2 separate regions of the Homo sapiens genome follow, and region 2 is linked to region 1. The links are contacts of gene promoters, found by promoter capture Hi-C in blood cells and fetal thymus (Javierre and others, 2016). All regions are on one chromosome and are shown on one strand. The core of a region is centred on a gene start or on the middle of the fragment in contact, and the rest is flanking DNA. Distances in the headings are between cores, read along the strand shown. Region 1 holds the start of CCSER1 (coiled-coil serine rich protein 1). Region 2 overlaps LOC105377331 (a long non-coding RNA gene).

Region 1 (5,890 bases), core at 2,672-5,171:
TAAAAGGCAATATAAGCCAGGCGTGGTAGCTCACGCCTGTTACCCCAGCACTTCGGGAGGCCGAGGAGAGTGGATCAACTGAGGTCCGGAGTTCGAGACCAGCCTGGCCAACATGGTGAAACCCCATCTCTACTAAAGTAAATACAAAAATTAGCTGGGTGTGGTGGCGCGTGCCTGTAATCCCAGCTACTCAGGGAGCTGAGGGAGGAGAATCACTTGAACCCAGGAGGCGGAGGTTGCAGTGAGCCGAGATTGCGCCACTGCACTCCAGCCTGGGCGACAAGAACGAAACTCCATCTCAAAAAACAAACTAACAAACAAAAAGACAACATAAAGCTAAAGATTTGTCTTCTTAAATGTGTAAATATTAACAATTAAATTCAAGAATAGAATGTGGGCAGGGCGCAGTGGGTCACGCCTGTAATCCCAGCACAGGAGGCCGAGGCGGGTTGATCATGAGGTCAGGAGTTTGAGACCAGCCTAGCCAACATAGCAAAACCCCATCTCTACTAGAAATTCAAAATTTAGCTGGGCGGGGTGGCATGCGCCTGTAGTCCCAACTACTCCGGAGGCTGAGGCAGGAGAATCACTTGAACCCGAGAGGCTGAGGTTGCAGTGAGCCGAGGTAGCGCCACTGAAATCCAGCCTGGGTGACAGAGCAAAAATCCATCTCAGAAACAAACAAAAAAAAAGAATAGAATGTGTAGAAGGATGTACATCCAAAACAGACTCAACCTGCACTCTGCAAAATATCCAGCAATATCTTAATTTATATCAAAACAAACTTATCTTCCCTTATATGTTCTTTTCTATTATTCCAGGAGACTTGCATCTTATACCTTATATTTTTCTTATCCACAATGTACTAATCCTGCTTATCCTTTAACATCAAGATCAAGCAAGTCTTACCCACCCCCGAAGCATTCTCAAACAAAATCCAGTATGAAATGTTATTGTCATGTTCTGAACTCCTGTAGTACTCATTAGACATGTAATCTCTTATTGTTACGGGTTGTTAACTCTACGCTCAAGCATGAGCATCAGATTCCTCCCACATGGCAAGTAAGTTCCTGAAAGACAGGGAACAAGGAATCTCCCGTTCCTCCCCAATGCCTAGACAGTAGTACTTTGCAAACGTTAGGCCCTTTATTATGAGCATTATGATGAGTAATAAAATGCAATAAAGGGTTGAATAACTATTACTGTAAAAATATAACAAATTTTTCATTTTCTACTTTGTTTTATCTAAATTAACATTCTATGGTATAAATAATGTATCTTTAAAATAATAAACAGTTGCTGATTCTCTTAACTGTCAAAAAACAAAATACTCATAAATAGGACTTTTAATGATTGCAATAATACAGTTCATCAATTACATTTTTTAATTCCCTATTATATCTATGTTCAAATAGTTTGGGATAGTTGAGGTAATAACCCTCCGAATGGGGTTCTCCATCTGAGTTCTAACCTAATATTTAAAGCTGCACATGCTTCCGTGTTGAAAATGTATTTCAAAGTAATATAAATCTAACAAAATCAAAATATCAAATCCTTAACTCTGCTTTGTTTTTCAAAGAACAGGACTGTTTAGGAAAGCAATAAAACAATACAAACAACAGTTGGTTTGTTTTGATCAAAATAACTAATTAATTTAAATGAAGACAAATCACTCTGACAATAGGTTGACCAACTTCTCTTTTTTCTCTGTGAAACTATTGAAAGTGTGGTTACAACATGGAATTTCAATATTTGAAAAACATTGTCTTGGCAGGCTTTTAGAGACATTTCAGTTTGCAATATTAAGGATACTGTCCTACTACTAAACCCAGTCACAGTTCTATAAAAGTACAGGTTGCTACTTTTAAGAGAAAACATTCATTTTATAAGCACCGTGACAGGCACTGTCCCAAGGCATCTTTAAGTTTCAAGTTACGTATCTGGAACATGTACCTGTTATAAAGCAAACAGAAAGAGAAACCAAGACAAATTATATTATAGCCTAGATTACCAGTATTTTAGGTCTTCCCTTAATAACCAGTTTTGAAGGAACCAGTGATAACTGACCCCCACCTAGGTGTCCTCTTATCCGTTTTCCCTAAGGCTGTTAATAAAACCAGCTTTACTTTAAACGTGTACACATTATTTTTAATAGTCCTTGAGGGGCAGAGAAGGGAGGATGTGTGTTACATTTCAATAGGAAGGTATTCAACTGTAAAGATTTCAGAAATGAAAGCTGTTGAAACCAAGTAGGTATTTTCTGACTTGTAAGTCCTACTGACTGCCTGAAAAGGTAAGAGGGGTGGAGAAGAGGACATAAAAACATTAAAGGGCAAAGAATCTGTAACTTCTAAGAAGTATTTTTTTCTACCTGTAAAAATATGAGTTTTTTTTTTACTTCATTTCATATTCCATGTCCCACGAGAGGAAGGGGAAGCATAATTGCTTCTAATTCTGAGGCAGGGAGAGGAGAGAGAGAGAGAGAGAAAGAGAGCAGTTCAGGATACACTAAAAGGAAACCCCAAGAAATTTCACAACTCTTTGCCATAAATAGCCTTTCTTCTCACTCTGGATACCTCCTCCTTTACATCAGCAAGGCTCAGCCTCCACGCACGCAGAAGCACCATTCACAAATCCCTCCGTCACCCTTACCCCTTGCTGGCACCGTGTGTACGAGTCCCTGGGACACAAGCCAAAAGTCGAAGGGGCCAGGGGGCCACATGCGGTTTCAGCTTACGGCTGACTTTCTGCTCAGGTGAACCAACCCACTGGTTAGTCCAGAGCGCGCGCGCGCGCGCACACACACACACACACACACACGCACACAACCTGGGGCCCTTGACGCTCCACCACAAAGCAAGTGGTTCAATCTAAGTCGCTGCCGTTACTGCTGCCTCTGGGCAGGGTCTTGCTTCCAATCCAGGAAACTGGCGCCAGAGGACAAGCAGGCGGAGGCAAGAGGTGGTCCCGGCCCCGCACTGCGGTTCCTCCGGGAGCCCCTGGCTCCCCGCCCCCTCCTCCCCTTCCCCCTCTTCGCCGCCGTCCCCGCCTCAGCACCCGCAGCCCGGGGCGCCAGCGCTGACCGGTCGCCTCTACCTGCGGGACGCGAGTGGCGAGGAAGGGGAGCGACCCGAAGCCTGCGCCAACTCTCGCCGCCTTGGCCAGCGCTCCGCATCGCCCTGGAGCGGCCGCCGCGGCCGCAGGCAGCAAACCACGCAGCAGCGTGGAGGAAATGGCCACGCGGCGCACTGGGAGTCGCGGGCCGGTGGTGAGCGAGCCCGCCCGCCTCCTTCCCACCCCGCCCGCAAGGCCAGGTCTCTGCGCCGAGCACGCCGGGCCTGGGCGCGCGCTGCTCGCAGGCGGCCCCGACACGGCGCGGTCACCTGCCGAGCGGTCATCCCCGCGTCCGCCTGCGGCCGGCCCCGCAAAGCGGCGACGCGACGCGCGACCCGCTGAGCGCTGAGGCACCAGGGGCGTTACTACCTTGAGGGCTCCGTGCGCTTGTTAAGGCTCCTCCCGGGCACTCAGGGATTTATGTCTTCGGGGCACGGGGGTGTCCTTCCTGGTCCCCCTCCTCTGCCCTCCCTCCCCTTCTCGGCTGTTGGGCTCCTCTCCACTCCCAGTTGCACAGAGTCCAGCTGCGTTATTTAATAATCCTCCTGCTCCTCCTGCCTGCGCCAGCGGAGCTGCTCTGCCCGAGCCACCGCTTCCCAGTCAGTCATGTTGAGACAGAGAGAGAGAGAGAGGAGAGGCGGATTGGCAGTAGGTCGGCGACTATTTGTGGTGAGGGAGAGAAGAGCAGAGCAAGAGGAGGGCAGGGGAGGGACGTGGGGAGGCGCTTCCAAGTGTGTGAGTGCGCGGAGTGTGACTGTGTGGGGAGCGCGAGATCCACCTCCCCGGCAGGCCGCGCTCCGGGGCTGTGAGGAGGGCGGGCCCAAGCGCGGCCTTTATACAAGGAGGAGTGTGGTGGGCTGGGCGGGGCGGCTTGGAGGGCGGTGCCCGGCCCACTGCGTCCGCCGGATTCCACGCACGCATCCTCTGGCATCGACGCGCGCACACCCACTGCTGGCCCGCTGCTGAGTTTTCATTTTAGGGGAAGCAGTATCCCACCGTGCTGACCTGGCCTTTTCCCCCAGTCCATCCTAGTGCTTATGTGGAGTTCAAGTGCATAGGCAGGTCAAGACTAAAGAATAGGGGAAGTCTGAAGAGACGTGAAGTGACTGCGGGGATGCTGGAAATAAATGCACTGTATTTCTCCTCTCCAAGGTTCCGATGTTATCTTTTTTCTCTTCCTCCTGTAAGGGAAGGAATTACCAGATTCTTTCGCCGCTTTTCCTTCTCACCCACACAATTCACATCCTGACAAGTGTCTTCATTCCTCAGTAACAAGAAAAGAAACCTAGCTTCTTTCCTTTAAGCAGGTCACACCTCCCAGGAACCATTTGCAGCAATCAATTCTGTAAGATAATGCAAGCACTGCGACTGTGTCCGAGAGTGGAACTTGTGTTCCTACAAGGAAGGCCCTACACAATACAGGCATTACAAGAGAATCAGCTCAATTTGACATCATTTGACTGATGGTCCCCTGGAGAAAATTTGCCAGTTTAGAAATCGAAAAGACTTTTGATGCATGGTTCTGTTGCCTACATAATTTATTTTCCCCTGATCCTCTCTCCCCTTGCACTGCCTCATTTCCTTTCAGGTTTACACTAAGTACTGAACTCTTTCCCATCCATCCCCTTCTTTATCTCCACTCCAGTATATTTATGCCTTTAGCAGGCAATACAGCAAATGTAGTGCATTTAATTCTGTGTGTGTGTGTGTGTGTGTGTGCGCGCGCGCATCTGTTTTTAACCCATTCTGGTAGAATGTAGGACCATTTCTAGGTAGAAAATGCATCCCCAATATTAAGTTTGTACGCCTAACATCACCTCCCTTACCTTCTGCCCAGATTACAAGATGTTGTGATCAGGTGCACTGAGGTATTGAGAAAAACTTCCAGAAATCAAGTGATCTACAGTTTTTTCAAGGTGTGTTTGTGTGTGCGCGTGCGCGTGCGCACGCTCTGTGTAATCTAACTGGCTATGATCTAACTTCTGAAATGTGGTTATATTGGGAATAAAAGCAAGATGTATTTTTTAAATGAATCTGAGTGGTCAATGTATATTACAGCATGGGGACAACTCTGCTTTTGGGAGACAATTATAGGAAACATTTTTCATAAATTAGACAAAAGGAAGATAAGATTTAGGAGGCTACGGAGGAGGCGGCAAGGTTGACAATTCAGTTGTCCTATCTTCTTCCATGGCTTGTGACCATCGTACATCTTTAGGGTTTTGTCATATGCTGGCACCTTATATATTCTCCACATATTTTACCCTTTCACATTGATGTTCCTGTCTCGTAATTCTTCAATCTCTCATACAGAGTTTAGCAAACATTAAAAATGATTTAAGCATGTGATCAAGACCTAACAAAGAAGTGATATTAAGGAGTGTGATAAAAACAAAGTGATATTGGAAAGGACAGCAAGTTGGGACAGGTGCGTGAATATATCAATAATATAAGTATATAGGCCATTAAAGCTTCTTTGATTAAGCACTGGAAAAATGAATGGACTAACAAAGCATATTGGGATTGATAGTGTGCCCTATGGGACAGCTATTATTATTTCCTCAATTTTACAGACCAAGAAAGTTAAATTTTGAAAGTGTGTGTAGATAACCTAAGATCATACAAAGAATAAATAATGTCAATGGAACTCAATCTGTCTTATTCTACTGTCCATATCATGTCCCATTCAGAAGGCCTGGCTTACTTAAAAATCTCAGGACTTTCCTTAGAGCTTTTGTTTATGAAATAAGCTGACCTACAATCCTTTGGCATTTTT
Region 2 (5,736 bases), core at 2,444-4,943, 62 kb after region 1:
GAAGGTGCACATTACCAACATCACTTCCAATACTTGGCATAGAAAAATCAATTCTTGTCCTTCCAACAATAAATAAGAAAACTATCTACTTAGTACTTCTTTCTCTGGCAATGTGCCTGCTGAGCTCATATCTGCTAGATTACAAGAATCCTGTGAGTCAACCCTAAGGTGGAATGAATTGGTAAAAGGCAGACAAAGAGAACTTTGTGTTCCTCTTCTCCCAGTTCTAGATTCTAAATTACTTCCCAGGAGGAAGAGTTATACCTATAATTGGGAGAATGTAAGTCATATTACATATTATGTAATATGATTCACTTCCCCTCATCCTAAAACTCTAAAAGATGGTAAGTTTCTAGCTACTTGGGTCTCAGCGATCTACAGTTTCTGTGATTTATTTCAAGAAGATTGCATTGAAACCACCCTATCAAGGTTAGGTTTAGATTCTAAATGAATAAACAAATGACAGGTGGACAATTTTTAGACCCATACTGTATTAGTTCATTTTCACCCTGCTGATAAAGACGTACCGGAGACTGGGCAATTTACAAAAGAAAGAGGCTTAGTGGACTTACAGTTCCACATGGCTGGGGAGGCTTCACAATCATGGCGGAAGGCAAGGAGGAGAAAGTTACATCTTAGGTGGATGGCAGCAGGCTAAGAGAGAGAGCTTGTGCAGGGGAACTCCTCTTTATAAAACAATCAGGTCGCCGGGCATGGTGGCTCACACCTGTAATCCTAGCATTTTGGGAGGCCGAGGCAAGTGGATCACCTGAGGTCAGGAGTCCGAGACCAGCCTGACCAACATGGAGAAACCCCGACTCTACTAAAAATACAAAATTAGCCAGGCGTGGTGCCACGCCAGAAATAACTGCAAAAAAAAGCAAAAATTGACAAATGGAATCTAATTAAACTAAAGAACTTCTGCACAGCAGAAGAAACTATTAATTGAGTGAACAGACAACCTACAGAATGGGAGAAAATTTTTGCAAACTATACATCTGACAAAGGTCTAATATCCAGCATCTATACAGAACTTAAACAAATTTACAAGAAAAAAACAACTCCCTTAAAAAGTGGGCAAAGGACATGAACCGACACTTTTCAAAAGAAGACATACATGCAGCCAACAATCATATGAAAAAAGCTCAATATCACTGATAATTAGAGAAATGCAAATCAAAACCTCAGTAAGATACTGTCTAACACGAGTGACAATGGCCATTATGAAGAAGTCAAAAAATAACAGATGCTGACAAGGTTGTAGAGAAAAAAGAACATTATATATTGTTGGTGGGAGTGTAAATTAGTCCAGCCATTGTGGAAGACAGTGTGGCAATTCCTCAAAGACCAATGAAATACCATTGGAACCAACAATCACATCACTCGTTATGTACCCAAAGGAATATAAATATTTCTACTATAAAGACACATCCATGTGTATGTTCATTGCAGCACTATTCAGAATAACAAAGACATGGAATCAACCCAAATGCTCATCAATGTAGACTAGATAAAGAAAATGTGGCACATATACACTGTGGAGTACTATGAAGCCATAAAAAAGAATGAGATCATGTCCTTTGCAGGGACATGGATGGAACTTGAGACCATTATCCTTAGCAAACTAACATAGGAACAGAAAACCAAATGCTGCATGTTTTCACTTATAAGTGGAAGCTAAATGATGAGAACACAAGGACACAGAGAGGGGAACAACACACACTAGGGTATTTCAGAGGGTGAGGGGTGGGCAAAGGGAGAGGATCAGGAAAAATAACTAATGGGTCCTAGGCTTAATACCTGGGTAATGAAATAATCTGTACAAAAAATCCCCATGACAAAAGTTTACCTGTGTAACAAACCTGCACTTGTACCCCTGAATTTAGAAGTTAAAAAAAGTTTGTGGCATGAATTAAGGAAACAATTAACAATGAGATGTCCTTATTAATAAACAAATTAGGAACTCCTATATATATTTTTTTCCTCCCTTAAACAGCTATTCCTTGGATTCCTGAGAGTCTACTATTAATGGGATATTCTTTTATGTTATGTATTATCTTTCTCCATTTATTTCTTAAAATTCACATTCACCTTTAAATGTAGTTTAACCAATCCCTTTACATCTTATTGTGAATGTATTAACCAGAACTTTATCTCTGGTACTGGATATTCTAGGCATCAGAGTCTAAGAAAATGATAAAAGAATGCTTGGAAAAAATGGCTGGAGAAAGCAAAAACAAAGGGGCCAAACAAAAGGCATAGGATTCTTTTTTTTTTTTTAGGGGCCAGAGACCTATTTTATAGGTTTGCTGTTAAAAGTCTTTACATTTTCCCATGTCACTGTCTTTTTTTTATTATTATTATACTTTAAGTTTTAGGGTACATGTGCACAATGTGCAGGTTAGTTACATATGTATACATGTGCCTTGCTGGTGTGCTGCACCCATTAACTCATCATTTAGCATTACGTATATCTCCTAATGCTATCCAGGCATAGGATTCTTGCAAAGAACCAACTAATATAATACTGTATATTTATGGGTTTCTACTCTCCAAATCAAAGCAGAAATTCTCAAACAACCAATTATTTTCTTTTGACTCAACATAATCATTCTAGATTTAATGATATTCCAATTACTTTTCCTGGGTATAATTATTCCTAATAAACATACCACTGTCATGTCAGAGAACATATGTTTTCAGAAATATTGTTCAATTTTGATTGTTGGTGAATTTCAGCCACTATGCCTTCCACCAAGCCTTGTCAAGCCTGCGGTTCTCTTCTCTTTGGCAGTAATGTTTGGAATGGGGTCCCTGCCCTGATGATTCCAAGACTTCTGATATCTGGCCCTAAAAATCCTTATTATAAGGTATACTAGCATTTAATATAACATAAGCTCTGTGAGACTAGAGCATTTCTTTTGTATACAGTCTATATAATATAGTGCCATATAAATAATCATTAATGAATACATGCTGAATAATTGGTTACATCAATAAATGAATAGATTTACTCTGAGAGCGTTTCTTAGAACCAGCTCCCATAGATTTGGATATTGATCTAGGATTATCATACACAGTGAATGAATAATGGGAACACTAATGGTGAGAGTCTGGAAGCTTCCAATTGATGCAGTAATTTCCCATTCAGTCCAACTGATATTCTGCCAAATGAATCAAAAGGCTTTAGAACATAAGCTTGATTCTTAGCTGAGTAAGGTTACATTTGGTGGCTCTAGAATGCCTTCACAGCATTCATAGTTCAAAGAACTTTGTAGTTCATAAACCAGAAATGATCTTGGCTCTAACTTTATGGACAAGGAGACTTGGTCCTTGGTTTCTCCAGGGTTCCAATTATAGTAAAAGTATCAAAGTAGCAGAGAATAATTAAAACCCAGAGCTCCTTATTCCTTATCCAGAGCTCTTTGCTTCCCTTATGACTGAGATACCATCTGATCTAAATGGATAGATTAAACATAAATTTCATTTTTCTTGGTTAGTGTTCTTGTTCACTGATATAGAAAATTGAGCAATTGATTTTTATTAAGGTAAAGTTTATGACAGCTTTCCCAATGATGACCACAGCTGAAGTTGTGGACACTGATAATCTTTTACTGCTTTTAATAACTCTATAAGGAAGGGAAAACAAAACTCACATTTACTGTGAGAAAAAGAAGAAAAGATATCTTAGAAATTGAAGAAACTGGTGGTTACTTCAAATGCCTTCTCTTGTATCGAAACCTAAGAAAAAGTTCTAAAACATTTGTTCAGGCTTTTAAGTTATCTTCAAAATTCCCCAATCCATTTGGTAAACAGTGAAAATAACTGTCTTAGAGCTATAAAATCAGGTAATTGCATTACTTGAATCAACTAGCTTTAAAACAAACAAACAAACAAACAGAAAAACCTTGTAAAGAAACTTTCTCTTTACTCAATATTTTTACTGACCCTCCCTGTTGGTCCCATGACACAGCCTCTTTCCCAGTTTCTTCCTTAACTGTTGACCCTATATATGAAATAAACTGGACTTCCTATTGAACATTGATGTACATAAGCTCAATTCTTTAAACACCTCTGTGGCCTGTGGGCTAATACACTCTTTTTTCACCAGTGTTCACCAATTGTTTTCACAGGATAGAATATGCACTCTGCCTAGGCTAGCTGAAGATTTATCCAAAGCTAAGCTTTCAGAAAAGTCTTTTGCAATCATACCCTATGAGCCTACAGCCCTTGCTGACAAATGCATTTCCTCTTAATGAGACATTTACCTAAACCCTAATAACCTAATAACCCTAATAACCTTAATGAGACATTTACCTCTTAATGAGACATTTATCTAAACCCTAAGCATTAGTAAAGAGTGAAACTGTGCTAGATTATGGGGCACAGATTATGTTCCTTCCTCATCCTACCCATACCCTGAAGGATCCCTAATATCGCAAGGACTTCCAGTCCATTAGCCTTAAGTGATCTATGGTATCACAGGTGTAAATTGCCTGACTTTTAAAAAATATAATTAATCAGCTGTAGGAGATCTTAACAGCTGGGACACAGAACATATGGCTAATAGAAAAGCTAATACAAAAGCTACATATTCTTAGAGCTTATTTGTGTCAATGTAGGAAAAATCCTATTCTTTACCCCCAGAAACTTGACAGTATTAGTTATTTATATTCTGTCCCATAAAGAAACAGGTGCAGACACAGGGCTAGAACTTTCCTTCAATTCCAAGGGTATAGATTTATAGTATTACATGTTTCTAAATCCCTTCATATGGAAAAGCTTCTTACTCTGTGTACGTGTATACCTCAGTAATTGATGATATGAACAATTATATCAAAAAGGCTTTTAAGTTACTTTTTTGTATAAGACCATACTCTAAATTCTATGAAGCAGCAAAAATATTTCAATGCTCCATGTGCATTATTCATATTTACTGTGAAAATGTGGTGAAGGGAGATACTAGATTATTTTGAATCTTATATTGATATTCAAATTGAGATATTCTAAAGAAGTGTGAGTTATAAAAATAAGCTTGGATGTTACAAAAACTAAGACTGTCTTTGAAGAGGAGAATGTTAACGTGGTTCATTTAAGAGACTTTACATTTAATAGCCTCATTTATTCCTTATTTCCATTGTGATGGGAGTCACATGCTGGCTTTGTGATTCACACCTGGCTAGATGTGACGGTGGGGGAGGTTTGCTTGCAGAAGTGCCACTGTATTTCTACAAACATGTGACAGATCCCCTCAAGACAAAAGATAGAAATTTTATTTTTTTTTCAAATTTGGAAAGCGTCTCCTATGAACACCACGTCTTAGGCATTTATTTAAGCAAAATTTACACACTACTGAGAGAGCCTTCATTATGTTTGTGCTATTACCTCTTTTATCTTTTTAATAATAAATATTTATATTGTGCTTTTGTTATTCGTCCTGTTGCTCCCTTCCTCCCACCTTCATTCTTTTTCTTTTTTTTCTTTGAGACAGGGTCTTGCTCTGTCGCCCAGCCTGGAGTGCAGTGGCATGATCTCGGCTCACTGCAACCTCCACCTCCCAGGCTCAAACAATCCTCCCACCTCAGCTACCCGAGTAGCTTGGACGACAGGTGCACGTCACCACACCTGGATAATTTTTTTGTATTTTTGGTAGAGATGGGATTTTGTCATGCTGCCCAGGCTGCTCTGGAACTCCTGAGCTCAAGCGATCTGCCATCCTCAGCCTCCCAGAGTTCT

The links. The method cuts DNA at HindIII sites, captures the fragments that hold promoters and counts their contacts. A CHiCAGO score of 5 or more calls a contact.
Region 2: a fragment that was not itself captured here is called in contact with the fragment with the promoter of CCSER1 in region 1 in 1 of 17 cell types (total B cells); the score reaches 5.1 in total B cells.

What each region holds. Positions count from the first base shown.
Region 1 is chr4:90,125,425-90,131,314 of GRCh38, reverse strand. CCSER1 (coiled-coil serine rich protein 1) reads right to left here and starts at 3,921. Exons shown (of 11, transcript NM_001145065.2): 1 at 3,484-3,921. RefSeq lists silencers at 2,804-3,053, 3,164-3,363. The HindIII fragment of the contact is 6,776 bases long and covers 1-5,587 here.
Region 2 is chr4:90,063,803-90,069,538 of GRCh38, reverse strand. The region is part of intron 1 of LOC105377331 (a long non-coding RNA gene); the gene reads left to right. Among named protein-coding and RNA genes, the nearest start is that of CCSER1, 61 kb to the left of the region's middle. The HindIII fragment of the contact is 986 bases long and covers 3,201-4,186 here.